Regions from separate parts of the Homo sapiens genome. Here region 1 is linked to region 2. Evidence: promoter capture Hi-C in 16 types of primary human blood cells and fetal thymus (Javierre and others, 2016). All regions are on one chromosome and are shown on one strand. Each heading gives the region's core, a stretch centred on a gene start or on the middle of the fragment in contact. The rest is flanking DNA. Distances are from core to core; before and after follow the strand shown. Region 1 has its middle 11 kb from the start of KRT19. Region 2 holds the start of KRTAP2-1 (keratin associated protein 2-1).

Region 1 (4,792 bases), core at 1,479-3,978, 490 kb after region 2:
AGAACAGACTCTGGGCAGTCCCAGATGAGCAAGACCCCTCCACAGGCAAAATCTTTCCTTTCAAAACCCATCTGATCCCACGACTCCTGAGGGGAAGCTTCAGCTCTGTACTCCCCCTCACCTGGGAAGGTTCCCGTCCAGAAACTCAAATTGTCCTCCTCGGATGCAGGGGTCTTGGACACTGCAAGCATTTTCACTGAACACCCGCTGTATGCTGGAGGCCACCTCCACCCGGCGTTGGCCAGAGCATCCTCCCTGCCTACCTGCCCCCTCCCTTTACCTGGATGGCAGCCATGCCAGCTCCTCTCAGTTCCATTGGCATGGGTTTCTTCTCCCTGATATGTCCACCCTGACCCGCTCAGGCTGGGTCAGCATTCCCACCCCCACCCACTTGCCCAGCACTTACCACAGCTCTGTCTCCCCATCTAGACTTGGAGCTTCTGTATCTAGCCCCAGGGCTGACTCCAGCACTAGTAAACATTTAATGATTATTTGCCAGAACAGAGCCTTCTCCTGAAGCCCTTTTATTTTTTTTCATTTAACACCAATTATGGTCCACCTTCTGTGTGCCAGGCACCTTCTAGACTCTGGGCTTCAAGAGCAGGGCAGTCTAAAGCTGCCTGCCCTCCTGGGGCTTTCATCTGGGGTAGGGGGCAGAGTAGCAAAGCCAGGGAGGGGGTCAGCAGGGAAGGCCATTGAGGGGTGGTCAGGGAAGGCCTCTCTGAGGAGGTGACACATGAACAGAGACCTGAATGAGGCAAAGGAGCCCTCAGATCCCCAGGGAAGATTATTCCAAGCCAAGGGCACAGCAAAGCCAAAATCCCTAAGGAAGAGGGAGCTTGGTCTGTTCAGGCAACACCAAGAAGTCCCAGTGGTTAAGAGGGGTGAGCCAGAATGACAGTGTGCAGGAGATGAGCCCAGGGGAGGCCAGGACAGAGCACTCGGTGTCTGCGGTCTAATGGAGGCGCTGGCTTTTATCTTGAGAGTAATGGTGCTTTGAGCAGAGGAGCACTGGGACGCCCTCCCCACCCCTGGCTGCTCCCTGTGGAATAGACCGTGGGGCCCAAAGAGCTGGAGATCTAATAAGAGGCTCTAATGGAGTTCAGGTGAGAGACACTGGGGGCTTGTTCTGGGGAGACATCAGAGGACTTCAGGAACAGTGGCCTGGTGCAAGGGATATCCCGAGGGCAGAGCCAGCAGGTCAGGCTGACGATTCATGGGGAGGACAAGGGAAGGAGAGAATCTTGCATGGCTCCTGGTTGAGGTGTGAGCCTCCTATTTGCACTGAGGTCAGGAAGCTGGTCTGGGACGGTGGTTTATCTAATCCACCTCCAGGAAAGGAATCACACCGGGGCCCTCCTAGATCTGTGTTGGAACGCGTCCTGGCAGAATTAGGTTCTACTAACCAAGCAATGACTGTACCCCGATCTCTGCCAGCGCTGATGCCTGCTGAGGGAGGGGAAGGACAAGGGCTGTGTCCACCTGGGCCCTGCCTTCACAGACGGAGCCCACAGTTAGGGGTTGGTATGAAAGAGGCGACTTTCTTTTTTTTTTTTTTTTTTTTCTTTTTTTTTTTTGAGACAGAGTCTTACTCCATCACCCAAGCTGGAATGCAGTGGCGCAATCTTGGCTCAGTGCAACTTCTGCCTCTTGGGTTCAAGTGATTCTCCTGCCTCAGCCTCCTGAATAGCTGGGATTACAGGTGCCTGCCATCACACCTGGCTAATTTTTATATTGTTAGTAGAGGCAGCGTTTCACCATGTTGGCCAGGCTGGTCTCAAACTCCTGACCTCAAGTGATCCACCCACCTCAGCCTTCCAAACTGCTGGGATTACTGGCGTGAGCCACTGCGCCCAGCCAAGAGACAGATGATTTCTAATGAAGATCTGTGTTTTCTACATTTTCAAAAAAGCAGCAGTGAGCATGTCTCACCTCTAGCATGGGTTGAGGGGAGTGCTTATTATTTTCAATTCTGACTCATTCCAGGCTCCACTGGCTTTAGGCTGGCAAGCGGGGCCTTGCAGACTTGGGGGAGGGGTGGTCAGGTTAGTGAGTTTCTGGACCAGGTGAGCAGGGGGTTGGGGCAGAAGGGGCATTCCTAACAGCAGCTGGAAGGAGCTTCAGAGCTGCTCTGGAGACAGGATGCTGAGGCCCTGCTCATCCCGGCTCCAACCGGCTGCAGGATAAACATTCATCAGGCAGAAACCACAGAGAATCACATAGCGAGATGGGCTGCCAGGAGCTGGGAATACCAGGAATGCCCAGGCCTGGGGACTAAGGGGGAGATGAGGGAGAACGGGGGAGATCCCCTTTGCCCCAAGGAAGAGCAGCTGACGCCTGATCCCATGAGAGGGGCCTGGTATCTGAAGCGCTTTTTGAAGTCAGTTGAAAAGGAACACTATCCCACCTCAAAGACACACACACAGAGTATTAACAGAAGACAAAGCCTCACCGGCTCCCTTAGGCATCTCACGTGCATTCCAGGCAGGAACTACCCAGTGCCAGCATCAGCCCTCAGCAGGCTGCCCAATTACCAGCCCAAGGCCTACCAGCCGTGCCAGCACCAGGGAGGCACGGGGGATGCACCAAGGAACCACAGTGCCAGGAAGCATCTTCTGCCCTCCCCTGGCTCAGTCCTGCCAAGACCCTTCCCCCTCCAGTGGAATGTGCTGGAGTTGGAGAGGAAAGTGCTTCCTCCAAAGTCCTTGCCTGGGATTAGGGCTGGAGCCTGTGGGGATGAGAAGATCCACCAGAGATATCTGTCCTCGCTGAGTAAACATACAATGAGGACCTGGTACACAGAAACCGAACAAACACATCCCAACAGGGATATCCATGTCTGGGGCTTCAGAAGAAAGGGCTGGAGCATGGGGAGAAGAGAGGAGGCTTCACGAACCCCAAGTTTCCCATTCCTGCCATGTCCATGTTACCTCATCCTTATCCTCACCTTGACTGCTAAGAAACATAGTAAGCATCTTCTTGGCCGTGCACAGTGGCTCACACCTGTAATCCCAGCACTTTGGGAGGCCAAGGCAGGTGGATCACCTGAGGTCGGGAGTTCAAGACCAGCCTGACCAACATGGCGAAACCCCATCTCTACTAAAACTACAAAAATTAGCTGGGCATGGTGGTGAGTGCCTGTAATCCCAGCTACTAGGGAGGCTGAGGCAGGAAGAATTGCTTGAGCCTGGGAAGCAGAGCTTGCAGTGAGCCGAGATAGAGCCACTGCACTCCAGCCTGGGCAACAGAGCAAGACTCTGTCTCAAAAAAAAAAAGAAAAAGAAAAAGAAACATAATAAGCATCTAAAAGCCCAGCAAGATGATTTAGACAAAACTCCTACACTTGTAGGATGGGGGCATAGAAATCTTCTAGCCCAGAGATCTTCAAGCCTCGCCTGCTAAGCCCTAAGCAGAGAGGTGGGAGCTGAGCGGATCTGCTGTGACCACCCACACTCACACACACTTACACACCTCACACAGTATTCACACCTACTCACACATGCACACACATGCATACACATGCTCACACATACACTCACACACTCCCAGGCCTTCTCACACATGCATTCACACTGGTTTTATATACTCAGCTTTCTGTGAGATTTTGCTTCAGCAAAGATTCTCCCTCTTTTAAAGCCCAAACACGTGCTTCAGCCTACCTCCAGCAGTTTATATAGGTCAGAAAACTGAGAGAGAGTGGGGCCTCAGCCTGCCTAAAGTCCCACAGCTGGTGTCCTGCTCAGCAGAAACCAGCAGGCAGGTGCCCTGGAGCCAGGATGTCTGTCCCCAGGGGACGACCTGAGCTCGGGGAAGAGAAAGAGGTAAACACTGTAGGCTCCTGACAAAGGCAGGAGGCAGGCCAGGGTCAGAGGAGGGACATAGACCCGGGGCTGCTGGAGCTCAGATGGAGGGCACCCTGAGTGAGGGATCAAGGCCTGGGTAAGCAGGGAGGGCGCCCTGGAGGAGGGGGCCCTTCACAGCCCCAGGGTGAGCCACAGTAAATGGTGCCTAGAGTAAGGACATGGAGGTGGCGGATAGTGGGAAGTTCCAGTAAAAAAGAAATCTTATAAAAACAGGCTAAATGTATTGGCCTCTTCCTCTATGCCTAACTCTGTTCGAGTATGTGGCATCCATGAACTTGTTTAAATCATCGAAGCTCCCCTATGCTGTGGACACTGTCATCACTCCCATTTTGCCAACTAGGAAACTGAGAGCTACTTGCTTAAGCTGAGTTTGGTAAGGCACCGGGCTGGGATTTGAACTCACAAGGTCTGGGCCTGCACCTTGCGGTCTAACCACTGTGTCAAAGGAAAACCAGGGAGCAGAGGCTGCAGAGCTGGTTCGAATCAGACAACAAAGGGCCTAGCAGGTCAAGCCACTAGATTTGATTTTTTATTTTTTTCCTGCAGAAGCCAACAGTGATTGTTTGAGCCAGGAGATGATACATGCAAAGTACCAGGTGAGTCAGACAGCAGGTTTCCTGAGGCTGGAAACACAGGGCTATCACCCAGCTGGGTCAACAGCCCTGTCCCAGCACCCCCTCACTCCTTCCCTCTGCTGCCCCACCATCATCGCCTTATCACCTCAAGACCAAAGGACCACAGCCGCCTCCCCCAGAGCTGACCTACCCCGGCAACTCACCCCAGCACCAGGCTCATCTGTCTCAAGCCAGCTTTGATCAAATCCCTGCTCACAAATTCTCACAGTCAGCCTGTTCTTTACAGCAGCAACTCGCCATGTGGTCCTTCCACCCCCAGGACAGAACCCATGGAGAGGCGAGCCAGGGTTACTG
Region 2 (4,588 bases), core at 49-2,548:
GAAATACTGTCATGTGCAGCAACATGGATGAACCTGGGGGACATTATGTTAAGTGAAATTAACCAGGCACAGAAAGACAAATAGCACATTCACTCACTCCTATGTGAAATCTAAAGAAGTTGATCTCATAGAAGTAGAGAGTAGAATAGTGACTACCAGAGGCTGGGGAGGGTGAGAGGAGGGGAGGATAGGCAGAGATTGGTCTACAGGTACAAAGTTACAGGTAGATAGGAGGGATAAGTTTTGGTATTCTAATGTACAGTAGGGTGACTGTGGTTAGTAATATTTTATCATATATTTCAAAATAGCGATCAGAGAATATTTTAAATGATCTTACCATGAAGAAATGATAAATGTATGAGGTGACGAATATGCTAAACACCCTGACTTGATTATTACACAACGTATACATGTATGGAAACATTACATTGCACCCCATAAATATGTACAATTATGTGTCAGTTTTTTTAATTAAAAAATTAATTTAATACAAAATATTAGAATGAGTAAATAAAACCAAATCTTTTTGCAAGGCCAAAGAACAGATATTTATTAGAAAATAAACATGCCACGAAATCTTAAGAAGAAGGAAATTGCTTCTTTTACAGACTTCAGAATGGCCCAGGTCTTAATAGATGAGCCCAGTGCTCGGTTCCCTGCTTGGTTGATGTGGGGTTTTGTGGGCTCAGGGCAGGAGGTTTGTTAAAGTAGAGAAATGGGAGTGTGACTTTTTCAGAAGGTGAGTTACGCGTTCCGGGCAGTCAGTGCACTGCTCAGCAGGAGGAGGTCCTGCAGGTGGTGCTGCAAGGGGTCGGCTGGCCGCAGGGGGACTGCACAGACACAGGCTGGCAGCAGGTGGTGGCTCAGCAGGAGGAGGTCCTGCAGGTGGTGCTGCAAGGGGTCGGCTGGCCGCAGGGGGGCCGGCAGCAGGGGGACTGCACAGACACAGGCTGGCAGCAGGTGGTGGCCCAGCAGCAGGGCCTGCACACCACAGCCGTGCACGACGAGGGGCAGCAGGTGATGGGGCGGCAGCAGCCTTCCTGCAGGGAGCAGGGGTCGCAGCACACCGGGCGGCGGCAGGGCTCGCAGATGGGGCGCGTGCAGCGGGGCACGCAGGTCACGGGGCGGCACACGGTGGTCTGGCAGGTCACGGGGCGGCAGCAGCAGGGGTCGCGGCAGCAGCAGGGCTGGCAGCAGCCTCCCCCGTAGCTCAGGGAGGAGAAGGTGGAGCCGCAGCAGGAGCCGGTCATGGTGGTGTCTGAGGCTGGTGTGGGTTGGGCTGTGGAGAGGAGCTGGATGTTCTCAGGTGTGAATGTCCTCCTCCCCCTCTGGGCCCTTTATATACCCTGGCCGGGTGCAGGTGACCCTTTTCGTTTACCTTTTGGCCAATTAAGTAGAATTTTGTTTTGACTAATGGTTGCTTGTGACACACTCATTATCTCACTAAAGAGCTCTTGTTTTATCTCTAAGTATGGATGTACTCACATTGGGTGAAAATCTAAGAACTCATCGTCATTTGAGGTGATAGTAGCTCTTGATGCTTATTTTGAGTAGATAACACTGGATCAAATCTGGACAAAACGGTCTAAAAAAACTTCAGTTTTTAAAAGAAATTAAAAACATAGAGAAGTACATAGAACATTGAGTAGAGCCTATCCTGACCCCAATAGGGGACTCAAGTCCTTGGAAGCACCTACATGTGAAACGTGAATCACACGAGTGTTAGACAAGCCCTCCCACGTAGTCTGCTTGGGAATACGTTTGATTATCACTTGATATAGTGGGATACATAGGCCTTGAATAGGATAGCAGCTCATAGAGTTGTACAGGACAGACAAAAATTTTTGCAAACCACTAAGTGTTGGAATAAAACCTCCAAGACTGCCTTGCATGTTTTCTTTTCTCTAGTTCAGGTTCTGTGCAACTCTGGTCTTTCTGTCATAAGATGCTGATTTTTATCTCTGAAACATGTCATTTTTTAGCGTTGCCTTTCTTGTGCATGTAATGAAGAATTCTGTAATGGGAAATTTTTCTGAATATACCTTGTTGGCCGGGCGCAGTGGCTCATGCCTGTAATCCCAACACCTGGGGAGGCCAAGGCAGGTGGATCACCTGAGCTCAGGAGTTCAAGACCACCCTGGGCAACATGGTGAAACCTCAACTCTAATAAAATACAAAAAATTAGCTGGGTGTGGTGGCAGTGCCTGTAGTCCCAGCTGTGCCGGAGGCTGGGGAACGAGAATCACTTGAGCCCCAAAGGCGGAGGTTGCAGTGAGCCGAGATCATGCCATTGCACTCCAGCTTGGGCTACAGAGTGAGACTCCATCTCAAAAAAGAAATATGCATATATACTTTGACATAGGTGCTCTGATTAGCAAGTGACAAGAAAGGGGTTTTCAACCAACATTGCACACATATCCAGAACACTGTTCAGGGGTAGACGCATTGGGAGGCTGCCCAGTGTTCTGCTGTGGCACTGCTAAAAGCGTGATGGATGCGCTTCTTCAGGAAGTGTTGCCAGGGGCAGTTCAGGAACTACATGGGGGAAACAGTCCCATTACTTTCCAGCTTTACTCCTCCTGTTAGTCACCAGACAGGGTTTTGAATCACTTCGGGATCATTTTCTTTATTTGAAAGAATGTGCCTTGGGGCCGGACATCTAAAGCTCCCCAAATGGAATTTCAAGCATAATTTCAAAACTTTAAGAGGAATGTAAATTGACTGGACCCGGTAGTCACAATTAGGGAAACAGAAGAGGGAGATATCAGGCACAATCTCATCGCTAGAGACCTTTGACTCTCCTGTTTTACATTCTTTTCTTTGTTTACGGACGTGGGATTTTTGTTTTTCAAAGTGGTAACCAGAGGTAACTAGGTAAAAAGTTGTATATTCTGCTCTTTTCGAGACATATTATCTCATAATTTATTTTCATGCTGCTGTGGAGTCTTCATGATAATCACATTTTATGCAATGGGAGCCTCTTTGGAAGACTTAAATCATCACATTAACAAGACTCATTTCTCTACTGCAGAAACTTCAAACCCAAGGTCATTCTAAAGAGATCTGTCTCTCCCCTTTATAAAGATCTGTCTCTCCCCTTTATAAGGATCTGTCTCCCCTTTATAAAGGTCCAAAAAGATAATCTGTGCATCACTCAGTAACCTTTCTAGTGTTTATTCACTCTAAGACACTTATCCACACCCCATAGCCAAACTTCGTTTTCAGGCAGAGAAAATATGGGTCATGCTTCAGTTATTCATGCCTCAGAGTTGTAAGAGCACAGACAGCTCTGCGGTTTGACACTTGGTGGCAAGTCACATCCTATTTTCTGACCCCACTTATTCTGAAACTGGACAATGCTCATTTAAAGCTCTGCCACTTACTGGCTGTGTGTCCTTGGGCCATAATAATAGTTCATATCAGAATTGTAAGGATTACATGAGCTAATATTTGTCAAGTGCTAAGAACAAACAATGTCTGGCACTTAGTGTCTTGTATTTGTTAAATATATATATATATAGTAAATATATATATACACACATATATACACATATATAGTAACATGACCTTTTACTATATATATAGTAAAATATATATAGTATATATGTATATATACATATGTATTACATATATAGTAAAATATGTATAGTATATATGTATACAGTATATATGTATGTATACTATATATGTATATGGTGTTGCGGGAAGTCAGGAACCCCAAACGGAGGGACTGACTGAAGCCATGACAGAAGAACGTGGATTGTGAAGATTTTATGGACATTTATTAGTTCCTCAAATTAATACTTTTGTAATTTCTTATGCCTGTCTTTACTGAAATCTCTAAACATAAATTGTAAAGATTTCATGGACACTTATCACTTCCCCAATCAATACCCTTGTGATTTCCTATGCCTGTCTTTACTTTAATCTCTTAATCCTGTCAGTTGAGGAGGATGTATATCATTCCAGGACCCTGTAATAATTGCATTAACTACAAAAATTGTACAGCATGTCTGTTTGAGCAATATGAAATGTGGGCACCCTGAAAAAAGAACAGAATAACAGCAATTGTTCAGGGAATAAGAGAGATAATCTTAAACTCTGACCGCTGGTGAGCCGGGCAGAACAGAGCCATATTTCTCTTCTTTCAAAAGCAAATGGGAGAAACATCGCTGAATTCTTTTTCTCAGCGTGGAACGTCCCTGAGAAAGAGAATGCGCACCTAGGGGTAGGTCTCTGAACTGGCCCCCCCGGGGTGTACCTGTCTCTTATGGTCGAGATTGCAGAGGTGAAATAAACTCCAGTCTCCCATAGCGCTCCCAGGCTTATTAGGAAGAGGAAATTCCCACCTAATAACTTTTGGTCAGACCGGTTGATCTCAAAACCCTGTCTCCTGATAAGATGTTATCAATGACAGTGGTGCCCAAAACTTCATTAGCAATTTTAATTTCACCTCGGTCCTGTGGTCCTCTGATCTCGCCCTGCCTCCACTTGCCTTGTGATATTGCATTACCCTGTTAAGTACTTGATGTCTGTCACTCACACCTATTCGTATACTCTCTCCCCTTTTGAAACTCCCTAATAAAAA

Evidence for each region. The method cuts DNA at HindIII sites, captures the fragments that hold promoters and counts their contacts. A CHiCAGO score of 5 or more calls a contact.
Region 1: a fragment that was not itself captured here is called in contact with the fragment with the promoter of KRTAP2-1 in region 2 in 5 of 17 cell types (total CD8 T cells, naive CD8 T cells, total CD4 T cells and 2 more); the score reaches 8.2 in total CD8 T cells.

What each region holds. Positions count from the first base shown.
Region 1 is chr17:41,536,692-41,541,483 of GRCh38, forward strand. No RefSeq gene overlaps it. Among named protein-coding and RNA genes, the nearest start is that of KRT19, 11 kb to the left of the region's middle. RefSeq lists an enhancer at 2,482-3,102. The HindIII fragment of the contact is 5,266 bases long and covers 96-4,792 here.
Region 2 is chr17:41,046,018-41,050,605 of GRCh38, forward strand. KRTAP2-1 (keratin associated protein 2-1) reads right to left here and starts at 1,299. Exons shown (of 1, transcript NM_001123387.1): 1 at 524-1,299. The coding sequence starts at 1,250. The coding sequence ends at 864. The HindIII fragment of the contact is 11,978 bases long and covers 1-4,588 here.